Regions from separate parts of the Homo sapiens genome. Here region 2 is linked to region 1. The links are contacts of gene promoters, found by promoter capture Hi-C in human tissues and cell types (Jung and others, 2019). All regions are on one chromosome and are shown on one strand. Each heading gives the region's core, a stretch centred on a gene start or on the middle of the fragment in contact. The rest is flanking DNA. Distances are from core to core; before and after follow the strand shown. Region 1 holds the start of SHB (SH2 domain containing adaptor protein B). Region 2 overlaps LOC105376037 (a long non-coding RNA gene).

What was found. The method cuts DNA at HindIII sites, captures the fragments that hold promoters and counts their contacts. A contact is called where the count stands out against the background at its distance.
Region 2: a contact is called between a fragment that was not itself captured here and the fragment with the promoter of SHB in region 1, in 2 of the 25 tissues and cell types used here (heart left ventricle and thymus).

Annotation. Positions count from the first base shown.
Region 1 is chr9:38,067,311-38,073,921 of GRCh38, reverse strand. It overlaps SHB (SH2 domain containing adaptor protein B), which reads left to right and starts at 4,695. Exons shown (of 6, transcript NM_003028.3): 1 at 4,695-5,993. The coding sequence starts at 5,277. LOC105376039 (a long non-coding RNA gene) reads left to right here. Exons shown (of 4, transcript XR_007061483.1): 3 at 1,796-1,881; 4 at 2,371-2,495. RefSeq lists silencers at 4,285-5,094, 5,515-5,564 and an enhancer at 5,455-6,258. The HindIII fragment of the contact is 6,868 bases long and covers 1,997-6,611 here.
Region 2 is chr9:37,791,274-37,797,348 of GRCh38, reverse strand. The region is part of intron 2 of LOC105376037 (a long non-coding RNA gene); the gene reads left to right. Among named protein-coding and RNA genes, the nearest start is that of DCAF10, 6.5 kb to the left of the region's middle. The HindIII fragment of the contact is 4,652 bases long and covers 1,218-5,869 here.

The sequences.
Region 1 (6,611 bases), core at 3,446-5,945:
TTCTCTGCACCATTTTCTGGTTCCTTAACATTCCTTTAACTGCTCTGCCTACTTTCTGTCTCTCCCCAAGAAATACAACTTCCACACTGCTTCCCAAATAATCTTTATAAAATGTAGAAAACATAAGGTAATTAATTTCCTTGCTCAAAGACCTTCAATGGCTCCCTATTGCCTACAAGATAAAAAATTCTCCTGAGTTTGATATTGAAAACTCTTCCTGATGTGGTACAGCCTACCTTTCTACCCTTACCCACCATTCCATGCATTCAGAGATTCTCAGCTACTCCACTCCACTTGACAACTCACTATGGCCCAAGTGGTTTACCACATGTTCCTGCTTCTATGCCTTTCACGATGTTGCTCTCTCTCTCTCCGCATGGAATTCTCTCGTCTACTTCTACTATATCATAATGCTACTCACTCTTCAAAGCCCAGACCAGATATCACCTCTACTAAGAACCCACTATGATCTGCCCCGCCCCATAATTAAAATCTCCCTTCCCTATAGCCCCATAGCTCTTTGTCCCTTGTTCTGTCCTGCACTTCTCTCATCTTGCCTTGTATAATTATTGGTGAGAGACTGTGGTCCAGATCATCTCTGCATCCTACAGGGCCTGGTACACAGACAGGGGACTGACGTTAACATTCAATGGACAGAACTGAATAATGTTATCTAAAAGAAGTAGATGAGGCCGGGTGCGGTGGCTCACGCATGTAATCCCAGCACTTTGGGAGGCCAAGGTGGGCGGATCACCTGAGGCCGGGAGTTCATGACCAGCCTGACCAACATGGAGAAACCCCATCTCTACTAAAAATACAAAATTAGCCCAGCATGGTGGCGCATGCCTGTAATCCCAGCTACTCGGGGGCTGAGGCAGGGGAATCACTTGAATCCAGGAGGCGGAGGTTGTGTTGAGCCAACATCACCCCATTGCACTCTAGCCTGGGCAACAAGAGTGAAACTCTGTCTCAAAAAAAAAAAGGCCAGGCGCAGTGGCTCACACCTGTAATCCCAGCACTTTGGGAGGCTGAGGCAGGTGCGTCACGAGGTCAGGAGATCGAGACCATCCTGGCTAACATGGTCTCTGCTAAAAAAATACAAAAAAAATTAGCCGGGCGTCGTGGCAGGGGCCTGTAGTCCCAGCCACTCAGGAGGCTGAGGCAGGAGAATGGCATGAACCTGGGAGGCTGAGCTTGCAGTAAGCGGAGATCGTGCCACTGCACTCCAGCCTGGGTGATAGAGCCAGTCTCTGTCTCAAAAAAAAAAAAGAAGAAGAAGAAGAAGAAGAAGATGAGTCTGTTGGGTTGGTGGTGGCACTATTTTTCTGGACCTGTACAAGTGGCACAGCCTTCCTCCAGATACTGGAAGGAGGTGCAGCAAAGGAGACACCATGCCCCTAGCAGCTTGAGGAGCTCTTGGTCTAAGGTGAGAAGCTGAGATAGAACAGAAACAGAAACAGGGCCATACTCAACCCTTCTAATAAGAAAACTAGGGTGGGACTGGAGGAGGACATGAAAAGCAAAAATTCCAAAAATGATGGGCACAGTTTACAGCATCACATAATAATGAGTTTGTGATGTCAAGAGACTGGGGACCAATCCTAGCTGTGCCTCTTGATTTAATCTCTTCCCTTCACTGGTCCCAGTTTGCCCTCTGTAAAATGGAGTGGCTGGATCTCTGAAAAGAGAGTCTGTCCAGCTCTTACTTCCTATAATGCTCTAATACTTCTACAAGTGTTTGTCTTCCTAAACCGTTTGGCAAAGTCCTTAGGAAGCTTTTTCTATTTCCCTTCAGAATGATTATTTCGGACTCTGAGTCTTGGATGGTCGTCTCTACAAGCTCCCAAAGGAAAACACCCATGTGGTTTTTGCCTGCTTGAGGTAAATACCACCTTAGGCCAACTACCCCATCTGTAAACTGGGAATAACACCAGATTGCAGGGATGTTGAGGAGGGTTAATTATATACAGAGTGTCTAAGGGTTGAGCAGATACACAAGTGCTCTGGAAGTTCTTGGCATAATACTATAGCATTACAATAATTCTGGCTTGCAAATTATACCCCAGCAGAGGTATCACATGGAAAAGTGGATCCGACTCTACGGCCTGATGAAAGTGACATGGAAAAAATAAGTTATGAAATATAACTTCTCTTCCTGAACTTTTGGAAAAGGCAGAGATAACCTTTCCATGTGCAAGACACATGCAGGGAGCAAGCTTCCAGATTCTGGTGAGGACTTTCTTGTCTCAGGTGGCCTGGCCTATTGCCAGGATCTGAGCCCAGAAGTAGAAATGGGAAGGAAGGGAGCTGGGGAGGATTTGTGGTTGGATGAAAGGTGGGGCTTAAAACAAGGATGTCCTTGCCTTTCAGGTTTTCTACTGGGGCCTCCTTACGTGCAAGATAATTAAGTGCCAATGCGACAGAGGAACAATTTAAAGGGTAACGGAGATACTTAAGTCTAGGTATATTCAAAATAAACATCCTAGCCAGGTCAACTTCTGGGTCCTCTCTGCATGCCCCAGACACATCACATCTCTCTCTCTCTCTCTCTCTCTCTCTCTCTCTCTCTCACACACACACACACACACACACACACACACATCCCTTAGATTATTTCCTGTGAAATGCTAAGTAAATAGATCTCAGGCAATGAAGATGCTCTGTAGCTGGTGATAGTATCTGCGACTGTGAGACGTCACATAGTGGGTTTGGAAAATTCAACTGGCCACAGAGGATGACAGTTTTGTCTGACCAAGGAGGGAAAGGGCAAATAGCTTGATTCTGGAATAACAAATTTGAAGTCAATTTCACTTTACCACTGTGTATGGCTGAGCAGACAGAGGTCAGCTTCAGGATAAGACCGAGTTCAAGTCCTGCTTCTATCACTTCTGTGCTGTGGCCTCAGGCATGAGTCTGGGTGGGTTACAGAGAGGAAGCAGTAACAGCTCTCAGGCCTTCCCTGTCCAAATGTCTCAGATTGAAATCTGAGTTTGACCTCTACTTCCAGCGTGGCCAGAACTATGATGTGATCAAAAGAGCCCCTGGCCTTGCTGTCTGCCCTCACAGTTCCCACTGTTACTACAGGATATGGGAAAAACAGACTCCCCCAAAGCACATCTATAACAGACAGACAGCAAATGCAGATTATTGATTTGGGCTATTGTTTTAGTAAATCAACATTCTTAGAGAATTTCTCAGCTCTCAGGTGCCCACATCTTAGAGTTAAGTCACATTTTGAGGGTTGCCCAGGCAAATTCAAAGCAGCACCAGGCCCTAGTGGCAGCTACTTCATCTTTAGGCAGCATTTCCCTCTCAACAGGGAGCATGCCACCTCCCCTGGGTGCAGATCCCAGGAAAAGTTACACTGACCAAATCAGGCCACTCCCTGGGACTGTTTCCTCAATTTTGGTTAATAATCAAAGGATGATCTGAAATCGCAAAGAAGAGACTCTTGGAAAAGACATAATTATGGTGCCACCCGACTTAGGAACTGGCATCCAAGTCCACCTGTGTGACTTTCCTCTGGGCCTCAGTTTCTCCATCTGTAAAATGAGGTCCTGTATTTATTTTTTGAGACGGAATCTCCCTCTGTCGCCCAGGCTGGAGTGAAGTGGTGTGATCTCGGCTCACTGCAACCTCTGCCTCCCAGGTTCAAGCAATTCTCTGCCTCAGCCTTCCGAGTAGCTGCTGGGATTACAGGTACCCGCCACCACACCCGGCTAATTTTTGTATTTTTAGTAGAGACGGGGTTTCACCATCTTGGCCAGGCTGGTATTAAACTCCTGACCTCGTGATCCACCCGCCTCGGCCTCCCAAAGTGCTGGGATTACAGGCGTGAGACACCGCACCCGGCCGAGGTCCTGTATTAAATGGATCCTTGCCAGCTCCTACAACATAAGGCATTAAATGTTCCCACAACTTGCTCCCCGCCGGCTGGCAGCGAACAGGGCTAAAGCCTCGACTTCCTCAGAGGTGAAAAGGTAAGCAAACATTCCGACCTCCCCTAGCCTTGCTCTCGGATTGGTGCTGGGCCCGGCTCCCACCGCCTATCCCGACCACATCCGTCATCTGGACTGCTAATACACTCATTAGCATAAAGATTCCTCCGAAGACCTGGCGCACGGGGCTGAACCGGAGTCTGTCCCTTTAAGGAAGAGGGACAGCCACTCTGTCCCTAAGGGCACTAGGCACTGCATTTCCTCCACACGGGCCACGCTGTAAACTAGACAGGTTCCGTGTTAATCCACTCTCCCTCCTCAACCCCGACAGGGGGATCCCTGGAGTGAACAACGCGCGGGGTCCCGGGGGACTGCGGAAAGGTTTGGCCTCTGCGCGTAGCAGGCTCCGCCAGGCAACCTCTCGCCCGAGGCGGCGGCGAGCTGCAAGCTAGGTGGAGCCGGCTGCGCGGCGGGACCCCAGCGCCCTGGGGCAAGACCCTGGTGCTGGCGCCAGGGCAGCCGCGGGAGGTGGCGTGTGCAGGAGCGGAGAGGTGCGCCCACCCCGGCCCCGGGCGCGAGGGGGGCGGGGCTTGGGCCGCGGCCCGGGGCCAGGCTCGCGGGGATGGGCGGTGCTGGGTCTGCGGGAGCGGGCGGGGGGCGGGGCGCGCGAGCGGGCTCCGGGGGGGCGGGGCGGCGGCGCGGGGCGGGCTCTGGCGGCCTGAGTGTCACACACGCGGCGGCTCGGGAGGCGGCGGCAGTGGCAGCGACAGGCGCCGCCGGGACGGGCACGGGCGCGCGGGCTCCGGCGGGCGCCGGCTGCCTTCCTCCGTCGCTCGCTGTCTCTCCCGGCCGCATTCTCCTCCGCTGCGGGGCCGAGCTCTCCCCAGCGCTCGCAGGAAGGAAGAAGGGAGCCGAGGACGCCGAGAAGTTCCCGCGGCAGCCGCGGATCCCGGCCAAGGCGGAGGCTGCGGCTCCGACGGGGCAGGAGCGCGATCCACGGCGAGGGGCGTACGGCCAAAGGGTCCGCGGCGTGGAGCGCTCGGACCTTCCGCTCTCCCCCGGGCGTGGGCCGGGACCCCATGAGACGCGCCCACGAGGGGCGCGAGATTCCTAGCTTGGGCGGCGCTAGGCGGAGGGAGGTGTTGCAGCCGCCGGAGCCAGAGAGCTGCCGGCAGGAGGCGGCGGCGGCAAGAACTTGAACTTGGCGTCGGGAGCGGGCGCCCCGGACGCCCCCCGCCGGGGCCGGGGCGCCGAGGGACCTGCGCCGCAGCGCTGCCCCCCGAATGGCCGCGGCGGCGGACCGGGCTCCCGCGCCGCGGCCCTAGGCGGCCTCTCGCCATGGCCAAGTGGCTAAACAAGTACTTCAGCTTGGGCAACAGCAAGACCAAGAGCCCCCCGCAGCCGCCGCGGCCAGACTACCGCGAGCAGCGGCGCCGAGGCGAGCGGCCTTCGCAGCCCCCCCAGGCCGTGCCGCAGGCCTCCTCCGCCGCCTCGGCGTCCTGCGGTCCGGCCACCGCCTCCTGCTTCTCAGCCTCTTCGGGCTCGCTGCCCGACGACAGCGGCAGCACCAGCGACCTCATCCGCGCCTACCGCGCGCAGAAGGAGCGAGACTTCGAGGACCCCTACAACGGGCCTGGCTCGTCGCTGCGCAAACTGCGCGCCATGTGCCGCCTGGACTACTGCGGCGGCAGCGGGGAGCCAGGCGGGGTCCAGCGCGCCTTCTCGGCCTCGTCCGCGTCGGGCGCCGCGGGCTGTTGCTGCGCCTCCTCGGGCGCGGGGGCCGCCGCGTCCTCGTCCTCGTCCTCCGGCTCTCCGCATCTCTACCGCAGCAGCAGCGAGCGGCGGCCCGCCACGCCGGCCGAGGTGCGCTACATCTCCCCCAAGCACCGCCTCATCAAAGTGGAGAGCGCCGCGGGCGGTGGGGCCGGGGACCCCCTGGGGGGCGCCTGCGCGGGCGGCCGCACCTGGAGCCCGACGGCCTGCGGAGGCAAGAAACTGCTCAACAAGTGCGCCGCCTCAGCCGCGGAGGAGAGCGGGGCCGGCAAGAAGGACAAGGTAAGGTGCCCCTTGGCCTCTTCCCGAGGTTCCAGAGCCACGGTGCGCACGGGGAAACCGAGGCACCCGCCGCTCTGGTGTTGAGTCTCTACTTCAGCTTCGGCCTAGGACCCTGGGTCGGGGCTGGCGTGCTGCTTCCCGCTTCTGCCTCCTCCCGCGCCCTTTTCCTGGGACCGGCGGCCTCCTGACCCCACCTCTTTCGCCGCTGCTTCCAGAACGTCCCCTCTGAGCGAGAGCGCCCGGCCCAGCCTTGCCCCAGGAAGACGGACCCAGTCAGTCCTTCTGGCTGCCAAGGAGTAAAGTCAGAGTCAGAGCTGTCTAGGACTTCGAAGAGCTTTGACTCCTGACACCCCTTATCCCAGCCTCCACCCTCCGCTCACGCTGTAGGTGGGAAACTGAGGTCCAGAGCAAGGAAGGGACTCGCCCAATATTACACAGCTTTCTTGGTGGCAGATCCGGACCGGCTGTCTCCAGCGTGTATATGTAAATCTCTCGCGGCTGCCCTGCCCGGCCCTGCCCTGCCCCACCCCCAGCTCTAGGTTTCCAAATCCGGGCTGCCTGGTACCGGAGCTGCTCCGGGAACCTCCACGCGTGCTTTTCCGGTTGAAATGCGCTGCC
Region 2 (6,075 bases), core at 2,294-4,793, 280 kb after region 1:
GGCTTATTGGTAGGAGCTTTGCAAGCATTGTCTCTAAATTTCCCTTTACTGGGGGCAGCCATAACTTGGCAACTACGAGGAAATGCAAGCTCAGTATTGCCACAGCTACAGATTTTTCAAAAAATGCCACATGTGGAAGTTCAAAATGAGGCCTGCTGTGGGCTCAATGATGCCACAAGAAATAGGACATAGGATGATATACCTAACACAGCAAGGAGATGCCTTGTGTGGCCATCAGTAGATCTTTGAGAAAAGACAGAGTCACTCTGTTTTACAGGCGTGAGCCACTGTGCCCAGCCTCATATTCTCTTTATTTAAGAAGATACCGGAGGTTATGGACCTCTAGCAAAATGGACAGGTAAAGCAAGAAAGTGGAATAAAAGTGATCTAAGTGGATCTAAGAAGGAGAGCAGTGCAGGAAGGTATAAAAGACAGGTGTACAAAAAGGGAGGGAAATATGACACATGCTACAACGTGTATGAACCTTGAGAATATTATGCCAAGTGAAATCAGCCAGTCACGAAAGGATATATATACTGTATGTTTCCACTTCTATGCAGTACCTAGAGTCGTCAAATTCACAGAGACAGAAAGAAGAATGGTGGATGCCAGGCACTAGGGTGAGGTGGGGATGGGGAGGTATTGTTTCATGGGTACAGAATTTCAGTTTTGCAAGATGAGAAGAGTTCTGGAGATGGATGGTGGTGATGGCTGCACAACAGTATGAATACACTTAACACTGTGTATGTACTGAATGTACATGTAAAAATTGTTAAGATGATAAATTTTGTTATGCATATTTTACCACAATTAAAGAAAAGACAGCTGTGCAGCAGGCCTGAAGAGCAGCCCCCCCAAAGTGGGAGGAGCACAGAGTGGGAAGTCTCCAGAGGAAAAATGGAAATGGAATGTTGCAATCTATTAAGGCGAGGCAAAAGACTCCAATGCCAGAATAGTGGAAGAAATTAACAAAGTATATAGAATAACAAACAATGGACTGAAACGAGGCAATCACCAACTCCATGAAAAATAAAGGATTGCATAAAATGTACAATCTGTCAAGGCAGATAACAATATTTGCACTGGTAATATTGTAAAAAATGGCTTCTGATTTAACCAGAAATTGTGCTGTAACTATGCCGTGTGTTAGCAAAGCGTGGAGAGGGAGGGATGAAGAGTGTGGAAATAGGAAGAGCCAAAACCACATCTACCTTGTCAGGAAGTCAACACATTCTCTTAAAATTAAGAAATCAAGCAATATCAGTGTATTATATTTAAACATTGAGGTAAAATAGCAGAGAAAAGAGCTGTAGATGAAGGTGGTTGTCTTTTCGGATGGGAACTGGAGGGTGCAATGGGTAGGAATTTTTTCATCTTCTCAAACTGAAATTCGTATACTTAGGCATGAAGTCCCATTTCCACCCTTCAACCCCCACTCCCAAGCACCTGGCATCCCCTGCTCTTTTTCAGAAGCCTTGTAGACTCAAAATTACCTGCACTATTTAGGCGAAAACTAAAAGTGGATATTTTCTAAGGTGTAAGTCATGTTACTGTTTTTCCTCAGGTATACTGTTTTCAGCCTAGAGCAAAAGTAAACTTTTAAGTGGTCTCTGCAGGGATATCTGACATTAAATGTTCATAAAGCTGGAGAAATACCTAGCAAGTTTAAAAGTTAGTGGAGCTTTCCCTGGTACAGAAACTCCTTCACAGAATTCACACTATGCCTTTGATATACCGGTTTCTAGGTTCTTGGGATCTGAGTGTGTATGTGCATTTGCACAAATTTGGTAGTCTGAATCTGGTGTGTTTGATGCTATGACAAATTATGGACAGTGAGCTATGGAAACACAGATGAGGGACAGTTCAGCAGAGGGTCAGAAGATACTCCCTGGAGGAGCTGGTGATCAAGCCAGTTTTTAAGGAGAGGTTAAGCAGAGGGAGGGAGACTGGATTGTTAAGCAGGGTGCATACATGGCATGAAGAATGGCACAGATCAGGGCATGTTTGGGAAATTTACAAGGGATTTGGTGTTGCTCAAGAAATGGAAGTCAGGGAGAAGCAGGATGAGGTGGCAAGGTGAGCAGAGGAGAGGGTCACAGAGAGTCTTTTTTCCCTGTAGGTGATACGATGCTCTCAGAGGGCTTTCAGGCAGGAGAAAGGCATGGTCAAAGCTGTGTTTGTTATTTGTTTTGCAACAAGTTTTTCCATATATTTGCCCCATCAGGCTGAATTGTCATCAAGAAGACACCTATTTTGCCTGTCTCCATATTATGTTTTTAGTTATGAAAAATTTTCAAACAAAATTAGAGAGAAGAGTATTTAAAAAAATAACTATATGCCCATCATCTAGATTCCATTATTAGGATTTTGCCACATTCAATTCATCTCTCTCTCTCTCTCCTTTTTCTGTGAAAATAATTCTTTATTGTGGTAAAATATATATAAACATAAAATTGACCATTTTAATCATTTTTAGATATACAGTTCAGTGATATTAGGTACATTCACATTGTTGTGCATCCATCACCACCATCCATATCCAGAACTTTTTCATCTTCCCAGACTGAAACTCTGTACCCGTGAAACAATGACTCTCACTGACCCGTCTCTCCAGCCTCTGGCAACTAAATATCAACTTTCTATCTCCATGGTTTGAAGGCATTTCATGTAAATGGAATAATACAATATGTGGCCTTTTACTTAGCGTAATATTTTCTAGATTAATTTTACATTGTAGCACATTTAGTCCCTTTTAGGTTTAAATAATATTCTATTGTATGATATACCATGCTTTGTTTATTCACTTATCAGTTGCTGGACATTTGCATTACTTATACTTTTGGCTATTATTAATCATTATGCTATGAACATTCATGTCTAAGTTTTTGTGTAAACATAAGCTTTCAATTTTCTTGGGTATATCCTAGAAGTAGAATTGTCTGCCTGCCTTTCTTTCTTTCTCCCTTCCCTTCCCTCCCCTCCCCTCTCTTTCCTCCTCCCTCCCCCCCTTCCATTCCCCTCTCTTCCCCTCCCTTCCCCTCCCGTCCCTTCTCTTTTCAGAGATGGGGTCTCTGTTACTCAGGCTGATCTCAAACTCTTGGGCTCAAGTGATCATCCTGCCCAGGCTTCTACAGTGCTGGGATTACAGGCATAAGCCACCACACCCCTGGCTGGAATAGCTATGTTATATGGTAACTTTATGTTTAACTTTTTAAGAAGCTGCAAAACTGTTTTTCAGTTTTCAAAGTGGCTGTACCATTTTATAATTCTACCAGCAAGATGAGTGTTCTGAAATTTCTATATCCACAACACTGGTTATAATGTCTTTTTGATTGTAGCCATCCTAGTGGAGGTGAAGTGATATCTCATTGTGATTTAATTTGAATTTCCCAGATGACTAATGATACTGAGTATCTTTTCATATGCTTCTTGGTTGTTCATATATCTTCTTTGAATAAATGTCTGTTTGGATCCTTGGCCCACCTTTAAATTGGGTCATCTATCTTTTTATTATTGAGTAGTAAAGTTCTTTATATATTCTAGATACATGTCCCTTATCAGACATATAATTTTTAAATATTTTCTCCTATTCAGTGAGTTATCTGTTCTAATTTTGATAAAGTCAGATTTTTCAATTTTTTCCTGAATGTGCTTCTGGTGGTATAATATCTAAGAAACCACTGTCAAATCCAAGGTCACAAAGATTTGCCTCTGCATTTTCTTCTAAGAGTTTTATAATTTTAGTTCTGAGATTTAGGCCTTTCAATCATTTAATGTTTTTATATAGTTTAAGATAGGGATCCAACTTCATTCTTTTGCATGTGTATATCCAGTTGTGCTTACACCATGTATTGAAAACATTATTCTTTCCCCATTGAATTGTCTTGGCACCTGTGTAAAAAATCAGCTGATTGTAAGCATAAAGGGTTTTAAAAAAATATTTTTTCCCATCTCTCAACTTTTAGCTGAAGATGAAGTTTTATTTCTGTATCTTAATTCTATTCCATTAATCTATATCTATCCTTATACCTATACAACATTGTCTTGATTACTGTAGCCTTGTAGTAAGTTTTGCAATCAGAAATATAAGTTATTTTGTTCTCACAAAAGAAGAACTTTGTTCTTCTTCAAGATTATTTTGGCTATTCTGAGTCTCTTGAATTTCCATACAAACTTTAGGAGCAATTTGTCATTTTTTGCAATGAAGGCAGTTGGGATTTTGAGAAAAATTGGATTGAATCTGTATTTCAATTTTGGGAATAGTGTTATCTTAGCAATTTTTTTTTAAATTATTGTTATTTGTGGAGATATGGTCTCACTTTGTTGCCTAGGGTGGTCAGGAACTCCTGGGCTCAAGCAGTCATCCTCCCATGACCTCCTATTAATAATATTAAATCATCTGAACCATGAAAATGGGATGGGGTGCCTTTTCAATTATTTAGATCTTTGTTAATTTCCTTTAATAATATTTTGTAGTTTTCAGAGTTTAAGTTTGACATTTCTGACCGGGCACAATGGCTCATGCCTGCAATCCCAACACTTTGGGAGGCTGAATGTGAGGATTGCTTGAGCCCAGAAGTTCAAAATCAGGCTGAGCAACATAGTGAGACTCCCATCTCTACAAATTAAAAAAAAAAAAAAAAAGTTTGACATTTCTTTTGTTGAATTAATTCCCAAATATTTTCTTTTCTTTGATGCTATATAGTGGAATTATTTTTGAAGTTTTATTTTTGGGTTGTTCATTTCAAGGGTACAGAAATATAATTAATTTTTGTATATCCTATAAACTTGCTGAACTTGTTAGTGTTAGTTCTAATGGTTTTGTGTGTGTGTGTGTGTTTGTGTGGGTGGGTGGGTGCCTTAGGATTTTCTATATACCAGATCACATCACGTGCAAATATAGATGGTTTTAATTTTTCCTTTCCTATCTAGATATCTTTTATTGCTTTTACTTACCAAATTACCCTGGACAGAACCCCCAGTATAATGTTGAATGGAAATGGCAAGAGCAGACTTCCTTGTCTTATTCCCGATCTTAAGTGCAAAGCTTTCAGTCTTTCACTATTAAGTGTTATCTGTGGGTTTTTCATAGATGCCTTTTATCAAATGGAGGAGGTTCTTTTCTAATCTTATTTATTGAGGTTTGGTTTTGTTTTTGTTTTTAAATCACGACAGGGTGTTAGACATTCTCGAACGCTTTTTCTGCATCTATTGAGATGGCATAATACATTAATTGATTTCAGATGTTAAAAGACCTTGCATACTTGGGATTAATTCCACTTGGTCACAGTATACAGTCCTTTCTATATGTTGCTGGATTCAGTTTGCTAGTGTTTTGTTGAAGATTTCTGTGTCTGTATTCATAAAGGATATTGATTCATAAAGGAAAAGGATAGTTTCCTTTTCCTGTGATGTCTTTAGTTTTGATATCAGGGTAATACTAGCCTCATCAAATGAATTGGGATGTGTTCCCTCCTCTTCTGTTTTTTGTAAGAGTTTGTGATAACTGGTATTGATTCTTATTTAAATGTTTGGTATAGTTCACCAGTGAAGCCATCTGGGAATGGGCAGACTCTACCTTATTGCTATTACTGATGAGTTTGATATTACCACCTGATATGGTTTGGCTGTGTCCCCACACAAATCTCATCTTGAATTGTAACTCCCACAATTCCCATGTGTCATGGGAGGAACCTGGTGGGAGGTGATTGAATTATGGGGTAGATCTTTCCTGTGCTGTTCTCAGAATAGTGAATAAGTCTCACAAGATTGGATGGTTTTAAAAATGGGAGTTTCCCTGCACAAGCTCTCTATTTGCCTGCTACCATCCATGACTTGCTCCTCCTTGCCTTCCGCCATGATTGTGAGGCCTCCCCTGCCATGTGGAACTGTAAGTCCATTAAACCTCTTTTTCTTCCCAGTCTTGGGTATGTCTTTATCAACAGCATGAAAATGGACTAATACACCACCTCATGAGACCTTGTGCCAGTTATCAATGTATTGTCTCTCAGGTCCAAATTCATCCTTCACTGACTGCTCTGAGAAAATGGATCTGAGCCTTAAATTTTTTTTCCT